Regions from separate parts of the Homo sapiens genome. Here region 2 is linked to region 1. Evidence: promoter capture Hi-C in 16 types of primary human blood cells and fetal thymus (Javierre and others, 2016). All regions are on one chromosome and are shown on one strand. Each heading gives the region's core, a stretch centred on a gene start or on the middle of the fragment in contact. The rest is flanking DNA. Distances are from core to core; before and after follow the strand shown.

What was found. Contacts are between HindIII fragments. The CHiCAGO score rates a contact against its expected background, and 5 or more counts as called.
Region 2: a fragment that was not itself captured here is called in contact with the fragment with the promoter of BNIP3L in region 1 in 1 of 17 cell types (neutrophils); the score reaches 5.0 in neutrophils.

The regions. Positions count from the first base shown.
Region 1 is chr8:26,378,460-26,385,790 of GRCh38, reverse strand. BNIP3L (BCL2 interacting protein 3 like) reads right to left here and starts at 2,737. Exons shown (of 6, transcript NM_004331.3): 1 at 2,561-2,737. The coding sequence starts at 2,660. It also overlaps the pseudogene SDAD1P1. RefSeq lists silencers at 1-238, 1,988-2,577 and enhancers at 2,788-3,087, 3,061-4,260. The HindIII fragment of the contact is 3,600 bases long and covers 1-3,558 here.
Region 2 is chr8:20,197,029-20,204,106 of GRCh38, reverse strand. It overlaps ATP6V1B2 (ATPase H+ transporting V1 subunit B2), which reads right to left and starts at 6,726. Exons shown (of 14, transcript NM_001693.4): 1 at 6,565-6,726. The coding sequence starts at 6,700. RefSeq lists a silencer at 6,673-6,952. The HindIII fragment of the contact is 3,998 bases long and covers 1-3,670 here.

The DNA of each region.
Region 1 (7,331 bases), core at 1,488-3,987:
TAGCAGATGTCCCAAAGCAACATTTTGATGTCCCATGCAGGCTGAGTGTACTTCCACCTCTGTAAGAGCTGATGTCAGCCAAGCAGGAACCGACTGGCCAAAGACATCAAACTCCTCATAGGTCTGTCAGACACCAAGATAAACAATGACATATGGCTCAGCCCCCGCCCTCGCCCCTTTTTTTTTTTGAGACAGAGTCTTGCTCTGTCACCCAGGCTGGAGTGCAGTGGCGTGATCTCGGCTCACTGCAACCTCTGCCTCCCGGATTCAAGCGATTCTCCTGCCTCAGCCGCCTGAATAGCTGGGATTACAGGCGCCCAACACCAAGCCAGGCTAATTTTTGTATTTTCAGTAGAGAGGGGGTTGTTCTCTCACCATGTTGGCCAGGCTGGTCTCGAACTCCTGACCTCAAGTGATCCACTCGCTTTGGCCTCCCAAAGTGCTAGGATGACAGGTGTGAGCCATCGTGCCCTGCCTGGCTCAGCCCTTTTTGTTGTTGTTGTTAAAGGGTCAAAGGAAGATGAAAATCCCTTTGCTTTCAGTGAAATCACGTACACCTACCAAGTATCTTCACTCATAAGAAAACTGTACAATTAAGAAACAATACTAAAAAGAAACAGAAAGGTTGGCCACCTTTGTCAATTAGGTAGAATAACACACTGACAAAATAAGACACACACACCAGCAGGAGGTTCTGCACCACTGAAAAGAAGCCGGTGCGATGGCTCAAGCCTGTAATCCCAGCACTTTGGGAGGCCCAGGCGGGCGGATGACGTGAGGTCAGGAGTTTGAGACCAGCCTGGCCAACATGGTGAGAGACCAACAACCCCCTCTCTACTGAAAATACAAAAATTAGCCTAGCTTGGTGTCGGGCGCCTGTAATCCCAGCTACATGGCGAAACTTCGTCTCTACTAAAAATACAAAAATTAGCTGGGCGGGTGGCAGGCACCTGTAGTCCCAGCTACTCGGGAGGCTGAGGCAGAAGAATCGCTTGAACCTGGGAGGCGGAGGTTGTAGACAGAGCGAGACTCTACCTCAAAAAAAAAAAAAAAAAAAAAAAAATGTCCTCAAAAGAGCAGTAGACAGGCTGAACATGAGAACCTCTGCTTTGCTCCCAGCCGGTTGTGAACTTGGACAAGGCCATTTACTCTAGACCTGTTTCTCTACAGGCAAACAACAGGAGGCAGTTAGCTAGCTCTGAAGTTTCTTCCCATTCTAAAATCTAAGACAGTATGCTAAACATGGGCAAATAACTTAAAATTGCATAGGAATATGTGATACAAGTAACGTTTAAAGACTCATACATTCATCCTAATTTACTGTGGGAAATAATATAACCATCTTACATTCTGGAATATATGACACTTAAAGGTTTTGGGAATTAACCCATCAAAACCTGGAGCAGCAGCATCCATCTTAAAATCTCCAAACTCCATCGCTACCTGGTGAGGGCTGAAACTCTCTTCCCTAAAATAATCTTCAGGCCACACTGGAAGCACCTCCCTCTTACGAAAGATACTGCATGACCTTTAAGCATCCAAGTGGTTTTGAAAAGACTTCATCTGGCCATATGCTCACTGCTCCCATTACCTCTTTCCCAAGAGTTGAATTAAAGAAAGGTTAGGCAAGAACCCTTCCAAGAAGGCTCCCGGTTCTCACGACTAGGAACAATCTGAGGACAAGATGTCTGGGCAGCGGAATGTTATGAAAAGACCCTGGCCTGGGTTGTCTATCAGCCTCGTCCGTTAACTTTCAACTGCCCGAGTGCGTTTTTAATTCCGTTTCTTTAAATGCATGGCCCCAGACTCCCTGACGTGTGCAATCTTGGGTGGTTCAGGAGGCTGCTCTCAGCTTTACTGGGCGCACAACCCATCGCTTTAAAAAAAAAAAAATCACTTGGGCAACTTCGAGAAATCTAATAAAAAAATAAAAAAGGAAAAAGGAGAAGCAAGGCACAGCCTCTCACCCCACACGTGACTGAAGCCAACCCTAGACGAGCAAATGAATTTTCCTGACAAACGTGTGGCAACAAAGGAATGCTCGCTGGGGGGCTCCCGCGCCCGCCAGACGCTGCCCGCCCGCGAGCCCCGCACACCTGATCCCCGACACGTCCCGCGGCAGCCGCCCGCCCCGCCCCGCTCCCGCGCGTCCATCCCCCGGCGTCCCCGCCGCACGTCCCCATCCCGGCCCACGTCCCCTCCGCGGCCCGCTCCGCCCACCCGGCCTCCCCGCCCCCCAGGCCCGCCCCCGCCCCGCCCCGCCCGGCTCCGCTGCTGGGGACCACCCCCCGCACCAGGGGGATCCGCGCTACCCGCGCCGCTCCCGGACCGCGAGCCCAAACGGCCCCGGGCCCAAGACCCCAGGAGGCAACAGAGAGGCCCGGAGCAAGGCAGGCGCCCCTCCTCTTGACAGGGGACGGGAGCTGTCAGTCACCTGGACATCCCATGCCTGAGCCAATGAGCTGCCTTCTCCTCCCGCCTCCCGCGCCGCGCCGGTGGCGGCGGCCGGGGCTGCTCCTCCTCCCCCATCCCCTTCACAGAGCCTCGGCCCCGCACTCACTGTTGAGGCCGGCCGGCGGGGGCAGAGACTGCTCATTTTCCTCGCAGTTGTTGTTGTTGTTGTGCAGGGGCGGCGGCGGCTCGACTAGGTGGGACGACATTGTCGGACAGCTGGCAGGACTGCGGCAGCAGCAGGACCGTCTCCGGCACTCAGGCAGCAACACAACAAGCCGAGTCCGCCGCCCCCTTTTCTGCGCCTGCGCCGTCCCTCCCCTGCCCCTGACGTCAGGGCCCGCCCAGGCCACGTGATGACAACACAACAAGCGACCGGACGGGGCAGGGGCGCTCCCCTGCGGGCCCCGGACGTGGAGACGCTCGAGTCAGGCTGACGCGCGCGCCGGGAACGAACTCTTGCGTGTGACTTGGGATGACCGGATGGGATGAGTGATGCCAGTGGCAGTGGGAGAGAGGATGAGGAGAAACGGAATGAGGAAGTGCGCTCCTGTGTTCGCGCCCGTGCCTCCTCTCACACAGGCTCCACAGTGCTTCACCCAGCCCTGCGCACGCATCTGTTTTCTACCTCTTAGGACTCACTTCTGCAATAGGTGTCTTGGGGACACAAAGGAATCCCCAAACCCAGGTGCCTCCACGTGTAAACTCCAAATAAAGCTGCTGAAACATCAACACTCCATACGGGAAACAAGGGAAGGCCGCCCCCAAATTTAATTGTTACAGAATTTTTAAAATGTCGATTACAAACACACCATCATTCTGAAAAAAAGAGAAAGAAGAAAGGGGAAGAAAGAAAAAAGAAAAATTCAGGAAAACAGAGAGAAGAAAGTACTCACCCAAATCCCATCGACTAATCGATTTCTGGGACATGACGTGGGAAGCCGTTTATCCTGTACGTGGATGACATTAAACTATGTTCCTGAGCACACCTCCTACTTCACATCTCCATGTCTTCGTCCAGTCTCCTTGGTCTGATTTATGAGTGACATATGTTTCTCGCAGTCTCTAACTTGTCTTTTAATTTGTTTTTTTCACTCTGTAGAAGCTTAAGGTTTTCATGTAATCAGATTTATCATTCTTACATGGCTTGGGGAGACAGTCACACCAAGATTACTAATCTATAATTCCCTTATAACTTTTTCTAATTTTCTTATAGGCTTAACTTTACATTTAGAGCTCTAATCCATCTGAAATTTATTTTCCATATGCTGTAAATTATTTAACTTCAATTCTTCCCAATTTTGTAGCCCATTGACCTAATAATATTAATTTTAAGCCATCCTTTCTACACTGATTTGAAATTGCACCTTTGTCACTCTCTGAATGACCACAAAAATGTGAGTCTGTTTCAGGGCTATCTGCAATACCTCTGTTAGATAACTATTAAAGTTTCTCTTCCTTTGTCTTTTTCAGATGTTAATGGCTAGTTACTCTTCAGATGAACTTAAAAATGGACTTGTCCAAGATTGACCTTGTGTTGGTAATTATTGAAGCTATGTAATACATTAAAGTATTCCTCTAATTTTTTAATATATTTGAAAAAGTCCATGCTAAAAGGTTTTTTTTAAGGATTGATTTGTCAAATCCCTTTGCAAATTCTTTTAAGATTTTGGTCAGAAATGAACTCTATTAATAGATTGAGTGCTGTTTCCGGTCATACCCGGAAGCAGGAGTTCAAGCCGCAGCTGGTAGGGATTGGCGGCTGCTGGCCATCTGAGTTTTATTAAAACTGCTCGCCGCGAAGCCAGTCTTCAGCCAGAATGTCCAGCAGAAACAACAACAAGCTGCCCAGCAACCTGACTGCAGTTACAGAATCTGATGAAGCGAGACCCACCACCCTCCATCTAGGAGTTTCTACAGCAGTATAATCACTACACATCCAATGTGGAGATTTTCAAATTGCAACCATATAAACCCGGTAAAGAACTAGCAGAGCTGGTGGTGTTTATGGCACAGAACGTCCTAAATATGTGCATCTGAATAATAGGAGAGAAAGAGAGAAACTTCAGAAGAGCCTTTGCTTTGTTATAGATTAGTTACTGCTACCCAGGGTATCTAAGTAATTTTCCTCAAGTGGTGAAAGATCTTCTGTCCTGTAATCATACTGTATTGGATCCAGATCTTCGAATGACATTTTGCAAAGCTTTGATCTTGCTGAGAAATAAGAATCTCATCAATCCATCAAGCCTGCTAGAACTCTTCTTTGAACTTCTCTGTTGCCATGATAAGCTTCTGCAAAAGACTTCATACACATATATCGTGACTGATATCAAGAATATAAATGCAAAACACAAGAATAAAGTGGATGTAGTATTGTAAAATTTCATGTATACCATGTTGAGAGATAGCAATGCAACTGCAGCCAAGATGTCTTTAGATGTTATGATTGAACTCTACAGAAGGAACATCTGGAATGATACCAAAACTGTCAATGTTATCACAACTGCATGTTTCTCTTAGGTCACCAAGATATTAGTTGCTGCTTTGACATTCTTTCTTGGAAAAGATGAAGATGAAAAACAGGCCAGTGACTCCGAATCTGAGGATGACGGACCAACAGCAAGAGACCTGCTAGCACAGTATGCTACAGGGAACAAAGTTCCCAAAACAAGAAAAAGTTGGAAAAGGCAATGAAAGTGCTCAAGAAACAAAAGAAGAAGAAAAAACCAGAGGTGTTTAACTTTTTAGCCGTTCACTTGATTCATGATCCCCAAGATTTTGCAGAAAAACTACTAAAGCAGCTTGAGTGCTGTAAGGAGAGGTTGGAAGTGAAGATGATGCTCATGAACCTCATCTCAGATTGGTGGGAATTCATAAGCTCTTCCTCTTCAATTTCTATCACTTTTTGCGAAGGTTTCTGCAGCCCCACCAAAGAGAAGTAACAAAGAACCTTCTGTTTGCTGCACAAGCATCTCATCACCTAGTACACCCAGCGATTATTCAATCATTGCTTATGACTGTGGCCAACAATTTTGTTAACGACAAGAACTCTGGAGAAGCCATGACAATAGGAATCAATGCTGTAAAAGAGACAACAGCTCAGTGTCCTCTGGCCATGACTGAAAAGCTTCTCCAAGACCTGGCTCAGTATAAAACACACAAGGATAATAATGTAATGATGTCTGCTAGAACTTTGATTCGGCTCTTCCGAACACTGAATCCTCAGATGCTGCAGAAGAAATTCTGGGGTAAGCCTACAGAAGCCTCCATAGAAGCAAGAGTACAAGAATATGGAGAATTAGATGCTAAAGGTTACATTCCAGGAGCAGAAGTTCTGGAAGTTGAGAAAGAGGAGAGTGCTGAAAATGATGAAGATGGATGGGAAAGTACCAGTCTCAGTGAGGAGGAGGATGCCGATGGCGAATGGGTTGATGTGCAACACTCTTCCAATGAAGAACAGCAAGAAATTTCCAAGAAGCTGAACACCATGCCCATGGAGGAGCAGAAAGCCAAAACTGCAGCCGTCAGCACCAGTCGAGTTTTAAGTTAGGAAGACTTCCAGAAAATCCGCATGGCGCAAATGAGAAAAGAACTTGACGCTGTCCCCGGGAAATCCCAGAAGAGGAAATATATTGAAATCGACAGTGATGAAGAGCCGAGGGGTGAATTACTTTCTCTTCCGGACATTGAACGCCTTCATAAAAAGCCAAAATCTGACAAAGAGACAAGACTAGCAACTGCAATGGCTGGAAAGACAGACCGAAAAGAATTTGTGAGGAAGAAAACCAAAGTGAATCCATTTTCCAGTTCAAAAAGTAAAGAGAAGAAAAAACAGAAGAACTTTATGATGATGTGGTATAGCCAGAATGTCTGGTCAGAAAATAAGCGTTCCTTCTGAGAAAAACAGTTGGCGCTGCGAGATGCCTTTTGAAAAGAGAAAAAGAATGAAGTAACTTCCCAGAAAGTTTTCCATTCCAAGAAGAATGCTAAGTTTGTGTCATTACTCTGAAAATTGGTAAATCAAGCATGTTTGTTTACATTAAAAAGTCCAGAAGCACTATATTATGAAAACTGCTGAAAATGTGGCAGCAATTTGGTGTTTTTATTTTGGGGACAGCTAATGATGGGAAATGTTAATGTAAATAGTGGTGGTAGTGTAATATCATTTATCATTCATGCAAAAAAAAGTATTGAGTGCCTATTAATTGTCACTGTAGATACAAAATGACTGAGTTGTAACTACCCCTTCACTCAAGGCATTGACAGCTTAGTTGTGGGGGTGGACACAGACGTGTATTTACAGTGCAGTGTAAATAGTTCTCTAGTAGAGGTAGGTCCACATTTCTATGCAGACACTGAGGCCTTATGGACTAACTCTGTGGGGATGGGGGTTATATATTCCTGTAAAACAAAGCAAAACAGGACAATTGTAACAAGAGTAAGAGGTTCTTTCTTGCATATAATAGGCTTACCTGCTGAAAACAGGCCCCTGCTGTACAGATTTTGGGTACATAATTTAGCTCTTTTAGTCAATCCAAAAGATTTAAATGACCCCCGCTTTTTTTTTTTAATGCCATGTAAAGGCTTTTTGGTTAAGACCTCACTTTTAAAATTGCCTTAAGTGTAAATAGTACCTTTGGAATGTATTTAGTTCATCATTTGAGATGCCTTCATACTGGTTTCCTCAACCTTCCTTCACCCTGTATTATTTTCAGCCCACCGTTTGTCTCAATAAAAGGTTTCTAATGCCAAATGATAAAAAAGAAATTGAGGGGATTATTGACATATTTATAGAATTGTTTTCCCAGTCAGGACTACGAGATCCCACTTTGTTCTATTTTCCTTTTAGGTGCTCCTTTCAAAAGGTTTTAAACTTTCAA
Region 2 (7,078 bases), core at 422-2,921, 6.2 Mb after region 1:
AGAAACAGGGGAATAGTTCTCACCTCAGGGAGAAAAGTAAAAACTTTATAGAGGACGCAGCATTTAGCTAAGTAGATGAGGAAAGGGAATCCTTAATGTTACGCAGAAGTGACAAAAGTCACAAAGGAAATTGGAGAAATTGTATAGCCTGCAAGGTAAAAAGCCACAATTAAATGGTGTCATAAAAACTAGGGAAAAGAGCTTCTGAAGGACGGAGTAGGCAATGGAAAGAAAGGCCAGGGGGTCAAACAAGATAAGAAAAGGATCCTTTTAAAAAAAGTCAAACGTTACTGCCAGGTTAGAGACTGTTGTTTTCCACTGCAAAGTGCGCCCTAGGAATAAACAGCTAATTCTACCCCAGCAGGTCCTACCCAAAGCCCTCACCTATCACACCTGCATGGCAAGTGAAATGGGGATCAGGTATAAGAACACTCAGGGGAGAGTAATTCTACCAGACACCTACAAAATTCACTAAATTTCATAAGCAGAACAACTGAAAAAAAATACATGAACTAAAGTTTTGAAGAAAATTTACTATAAGGCCTAAAATAATTAACATGAAGCTGTCTAGCAACTGGGAATTTTTCACTTGCTTGATTTCTTTTGAGGTCTTATAATGAGCTTGCACAGAGATTCCTGGCACAGATGTGGACTCCCAAGCATGAGGAAACCATTTACTAACCAGTCTGTCCACTCAAGTGGCTTTGGAATTTAAAATTACAATTCCTTCAGCCTCAGGCGGGGAAGCCAGAGCCCTGGTAAAAATGCTGGGACAGAGCAGACAGCACTGTCAGGGCTTCCATCTTTCCTGCTAACAGGACGTTTAAATCCAGACATCACATATTTGCTTGAATACATCAGTAATTGTACTGCAACTGTCTCAATAGAGGCCCCCCAACTGAACTGTATTTTTTTTTCCCCACTTTAGATAAAAAGCAAGCTACTTGGATGGATGGTCATGTGAAAGGATTAATCATTCCCCTAGATTACTAGAAAGACCCCATTTGCCACATTTTCTGCCACTTTTATGAAAACCATCCCTACTGTTTTAAAATGATTGAATACTCTTAAAAAACATAATTCCAACCCTTTAAAAGATTTCTTCATTGTTCTCATTTTAAAGACTCCCAGCATTTTTTTTACAATGGCTTTCTAAAATTGCCATGTGGAAATGGAAAGTGAGCTACATTAGAAATATGTTTTCTTGAAACCAGTTTTCAGAAATGCAGAAACGTAGACCTTTCCAAAACCTTTACCAAACAGCTGGGGTGAGGGAGGGGATATGGTATTGAGATTTATGATTAACTGTTTTGAATAAAATGCAACATCAGTAAAATACACCAGGTTCTTAAAATTCTCTTTATTTTTTCAACAAGATTGTATCTCCTTTATAGGTCTGATTTCTACAACAATACTGCTTTAGAATCTCATGTTTAAAATTCAAGCTCATTCCAAACTATGAAATTTTGCCAGTCACGAGCAAAAGTATGACCAAGAAAAAGAAACACTAGTCATAGCTTTTCCTGGAAACAGTGACTCAAATTGACATCTACTACAGAAGACAAGATTCTACTTCATCAAAAGTCTCTAAATTTGGAACAACGTATCCAGCCTTTTAAAAAGTTAGTAAGTAACCTTGCAAGTTAATTGATAACACTATCATACATTTAATAAGTACTTTTCAGGAATTCTCATTTAATCTCCATAACAGACAGAGTTAGCTATCATTATTCTAAGTTTTAGAAGAGAAAAATTATTCTCAGAGAAATTATTGTGTCTTGCCCAAGGACACAAGCAACCAGCCCAAGGATCTGAATGTGTACACTCTAGCTCCAAAGCCACTTATTCTTTGACTCTACTACAGCCCAAATTCTAAAACTGAACTGGTTCATTTTTTGTGGTATGGTATCTTGTAAGAATTATGAAGCGATACCACCCAAAACAATTTCACAAGCCTGCAATTTTAGGTATGCAAAACAGGTTTTTACTTTTTAACGCACCAGGCAATAAACTTCATCCCCAATGTGGCAGTACTGACAGGTGAGGCCTCTAAGAGGGGAATGGGTCATGAGGGCTCTGCTCTTATGAATGGATGAATCCATTCATGGGTTAATGAATTATCATGTGAAGGTAACTGGTGGCTTTACAAAAGGAAGAGAGACCTGAGCTAGTGCCCCTGCATTCTCAGCCCCCTCACCATGTGATGCCCTGAACCACCCTGGGACTCTTTCAAGTCCCACCAGAAAGAAGGCTCTCACCAGATGCGGCCCCTCCACTTTGGCCTTCCCAGACTCCAGAACTTTAAGAAATAAATTCCCTTTCTTTATAAATTACCCAGTTTCAGGTTTTCTGTTAAAAGGAGCAGAAAATGGCTAAGACAGTAGGCAAGGCTGATGCACCCTAAGGAAACTAAGGCCCTGATAAGTTTGTTTTTAAATGGGGGAGCCAGGCTTCTAACTGTTTTGTTTTTCTTTAATCTTAGGATTGGTACTCTATGACCCTTATAATATTTCTGGCCTTAGTCTTCAGTACAATTAAAAAGTATGGAGATCATACAGCTTCTAGCACTTGGACTACAAGTGGGGACAAAAAGACAATTTGTATAAAACTACAGCTCTTCTCCATGGTACTAAAACTATCTGCAAAGAAAACCAAGCAGAATGATAACAAACACTACCTTTTATCTCTAGATTTATCCAGCCTTCCTCACCATTACCATTAACAGCCCAAAACAGAGATACCAGTTTAAACTATGGCTGTCAAAGACATTAAGTTGCCCTTCAAAACAGGAAAAAACCCATTTGTAAATTACCTAAATATTTCTATTTACCTACATATTGACCACTCCTCTCCAAATGAAAAAGAATTTGAGCCCGTAGGTGTGTGAATGGGGGATAATCAGAACTTCTGACAACACAGAAGATATATGCTTATATTACCTTCTTAACATATTTTACAACCAAAATGTCTTGGCTTTGATTCTGAACTATCATATGAGCCAGACAAGTATTTATGAAGTAACATCTAAAACCCAAAATCTACACGGGTTTTAAGGAGCACATATTTTATCAGATGACATCCTCTTCCTCCTGCAGGATAGGATATTGCTCAACACTAGTAACACCATTTAATGATTACGAAATACTCAGAAAAAGTTGACAGCCATTGCATAATAAGTGTCCTAGTCTTTTAGCCTCTGCCTTATTAGCAAAACAAAAACCCAGAGCAATCATCTTCCCTTGTACAAGAAGAGTAGAGATCTGCATGATGAGCAGTGAGCACCTGAAGAAGAGGTTCTAGGAAAAAAGCAAGGAGAAGATTCCTATTTTGACTTTTTGCAGGGCTGGCTCTGCTTTATGATATAAGAAACTTAAGGCCAGTTGATCTAGGGTCTCAAGAAAAATGGAGATGACCAAATTCAAAATACATAGCACCCGAAAGCTCTATGTATGTTGTTGAATCTTTTCTTTTAAGAGAAAATCAAGTTTTCATTCCTTGTGACTTCAGAAATTCAACTAAAATGCTCAAGATAATTTCCTAATTTCAAGCCTGAATATGTTTTCCATTTCTTTTAAAAGTCCTATAATCTTGAAGCTATTTTTTAAAAGGATCTAATTTGTACAGTGGAACTGTCAACATTACTCCATTTCTTCATTCAAAAAACAAAGCTTTTTGAGTTTAAATGCAAGTTACACAATTACAAGGCACATTCTATGTGTCAGGCACTGTGCTAGGCAGTGGGGACACAAAAAGGATCTCTGACTTCTAAAGGTTCAGTGTGAAGCTTTAGGCTGGGCACAGCAGCTCACACCTGTAATCCCAGCACTTTGAGAGGCCATGGCGGGCGGATCTCTTGAGCTCAGGAGTTGTAGACCAGCCTGGGCAACATGGGGAAATCCCATCTCTACCAAAAATAAAAAATAAAAATTAAAAAAAATTAGCTGGACGTAGTGGTGTCCGTCTGTAGTCCCAGATACTTGAGAGGCTGAGGTGGGAGGATCGCTTGAGCCTGAGATGTGGAGGTTGCAGTGACCTGAGCTCACACCACTGCACTCCAGCCTAGGCAACAGAGTGAGACCCTGTCTCAACACACACACACACACACACACACAATAACTATAATTACATGTCCCCTTAAATGATAACATCAATCAATTCACAAAAAATTACAATCAATTTACAAAAATTAAGAGGTTGGCTGGGCGTGGTGGCTCATGCCTGTTATCCCAGCACTTTGGGAGGCCTAGGTAGGCGGATTGCCTGAGCTCAGGAGTTCGCCACCAGCCTGGGAAACACGGTGAAATCCCGTCTCTACTAAAATACAAAAAATTAGCCGGGCATGGCGGCGTGCGCCCGTAGTCCCAGCTACTCGAAAGGCTGACGCAGGAGAATTGCTCGAATCTGGAAGGCGGAGGTTGCAGCGAGCCTAGATCGCGCCACTCTGCACTCCAGCCTGGGTGACAGAGCGAGACTCCATCTCAAAAAAAAAAAAAAAAAAAAAACCCACAAAAATTAAGAGGTTAATCAATATTTACTCAGAAGCAATTAAAACTTTTGAGTAGAATAAAAAATATGGCAAAATAAGAAGATATTCAAATGCTGTTAGTTGTTAGCCTAAGTATGATATCATTTATGCTTTTTAGAATAACACGGATATATAAGTGAAACTCAACTCGACCGGGCATTTCAACTCCCTGCTCTGATTCCACCCATGTTCACAATCTATCCACTGAATTATTCGAGCAAGGAGTTTAAATGCAAGTTACACAATTACAAGACACATTCTATGTGTCAGGCACTGTGCTAGGCAGTGGGGACATAAAAAGGATCCCTGACATCTAACAGTTGAGTGTGAAGCCCTATGCTACAACAGTTTTGTCAAGAATAACGTCTGGAAAAATCCCTCAGCAACTGGGTAAGTACGTACAAACCATGGAGAAATCATATTCATCTCTCTTAAAGGTTTACAATCTTAATCATGGAGTACTCTTTAAACAACGTTATTTCAGTTGATATTCTCTGAATTGACACTGAATGATTAATTATATGGAAACTGACTACTGCACCTTTATAACCTTTTTTGAGAGGCACCACTAATGTCTATCTGTTCTACCCAAAGAAAGGCAATGCATACAAACGCAATTAATAAAAGAGAATTTGTAATTCGTAGGTATAAATTTATTGCCAAGGTTTGCATAAGAATGCAACATCTGCCGATTTCCTGAAGTAGCTACTTCAGCTCAGATAAGTCCCAACATACATTTTCTAATTCGAACAATTCCCAGTTACTGTAAAAGGCACATCTCAGCAATCCACCGAATCAAATGTTTTCCTTTTTCTTCACACTGCAGTGCTATCACATGACCCAGTGACAGATCAGGATGTGGATTAGTCAGGCTTCAGATCGCCCAGACTAACACCCTTCATCTGAAATCCTTTTTAATCAGTCGGCCACCTAGAGACAGACACTCTGGCAATTAACCAGTGAAAATGCAGTCTCACCACCTGGGGAAACATCATGTGCTTTTCCCAGTTTTTTAAAAAGTCTATTTCGAGGGCTCATTGCCAGTTCCGAAGAAAGCTGTGAAGAAGTTGGATGCTACACAACTGCATTCTCTAGTAATCAAGAACCATTTCTTTTGGAATTGCTGAGCTATCCACTTAAACCTAGTTCATTAAGGCCTTTTTATTTAAAAAATCACAACATTTAAACAAGCCTATGCACACACACCACCTATGGGCAAAGCCACCTGGCTTCCCCAAAGAACCCTGCACTCAACCAAGTTTGGTTAACTGGTCAGTAAATGAAGAGGCAACGGTAGAAAAAGGCCCAGCGAGAATTTAAGAACCTGGATTTTTAGTCCCTGCTCTGCCAATAATTAAGTGTCTGAAGCATGGCAAATCCTACCCCTTCCAGAACCTTAGGCTTCTCACCTGTAAAATGATAGGGTTGGACTGGATGACCTGCAAGGTACTTTTCAGCTCTAGCGTTCTCTGATATCTAGGTGTCCTTCTGCGGAGCAGCCCCTCCACCAAACACCAAGCCACATCTCCCTCTGGCTACTGGCCTGACCTCCATCCACGAAAGGCCTGACCACGTCAGCGAAGGCTCTACCGTCTGCCCTCCGCAGGAGTTGAAGACCCCATTGAGGTCCTCACCAGGGGGAGGGGAGAAGGGGCGTTCCCTCGACCCCTAGATATCCAAATGAAGTCAGGGGAAGATTAAGATCGGAGTGGCAAGAAGTGGCCCTCGGGGACGGGAAGCAAGTGCCTAAGAAGGCTCCAGCCTAGGGAAGCTGGGGAGGGGAGGGGGTAGGGCAACAGCCAGGAGCCCACCAACCCCAGGAAAAAGTTCCCGCTGGTGCTCTTGCCCTCAGCCCATCTCCTGGAAATATTAGGTACAGGCAAATCTCCTTCTAAAGAGACAAGTGGGTCAGGGTCGGAGGGGAGACGCGGGAGGGAAAAACAAATCCTACCCCCTACCCGCTGGCTAAGCAGGTGACTGGGAGCAAAGGGCTAGGCTAGGGAGCAAAGACCGGAGACGTATTACTCTCTGATACTCACTGAGGCGAGGCTGGGAGAGGTAGTTCCGACTGACTGCCAGCGCCTGCTCCCGAGCTCCCACCGCCGGCCCACCGGTGGGCACGGGTAGCTCGGGTGCGGCCCCGTTGACAATCCCCCGCATCGCCCGCAGCGCCATCTTGTCTCCTCTGTCCCGACTGGCCCAGCAGCGACGCCGCGCACGCGCAGATATACCAAGGCGGCCCGCGGCCCGAGGCTCCGCCTATGCGCGCTGCGGCGCCCCGGCCTCGCCCCGCCCCCTTCGCCGCCGGCCGCCCCCAGCCTCGTGACTTCGCGCCGCTGGGGCCAGACCTGCTTGCGAGCAAGAGGAGCTGACCAGCGTGCTGGGAGGCGCGCGCGGGCGCAGAGGGAAGGGAAGCGAAAGAGGGGAGATGGAAGGAGAGAGGAAAGCCAGCCGAAAGAGAGGCGCACAAGCGGAGTGAGGGGAGGAAGGCAAACGCGTGCAGGCCAACGTCAGCTGATATCCATTTCGAATGGGCTTTCGTGACGCTGAATG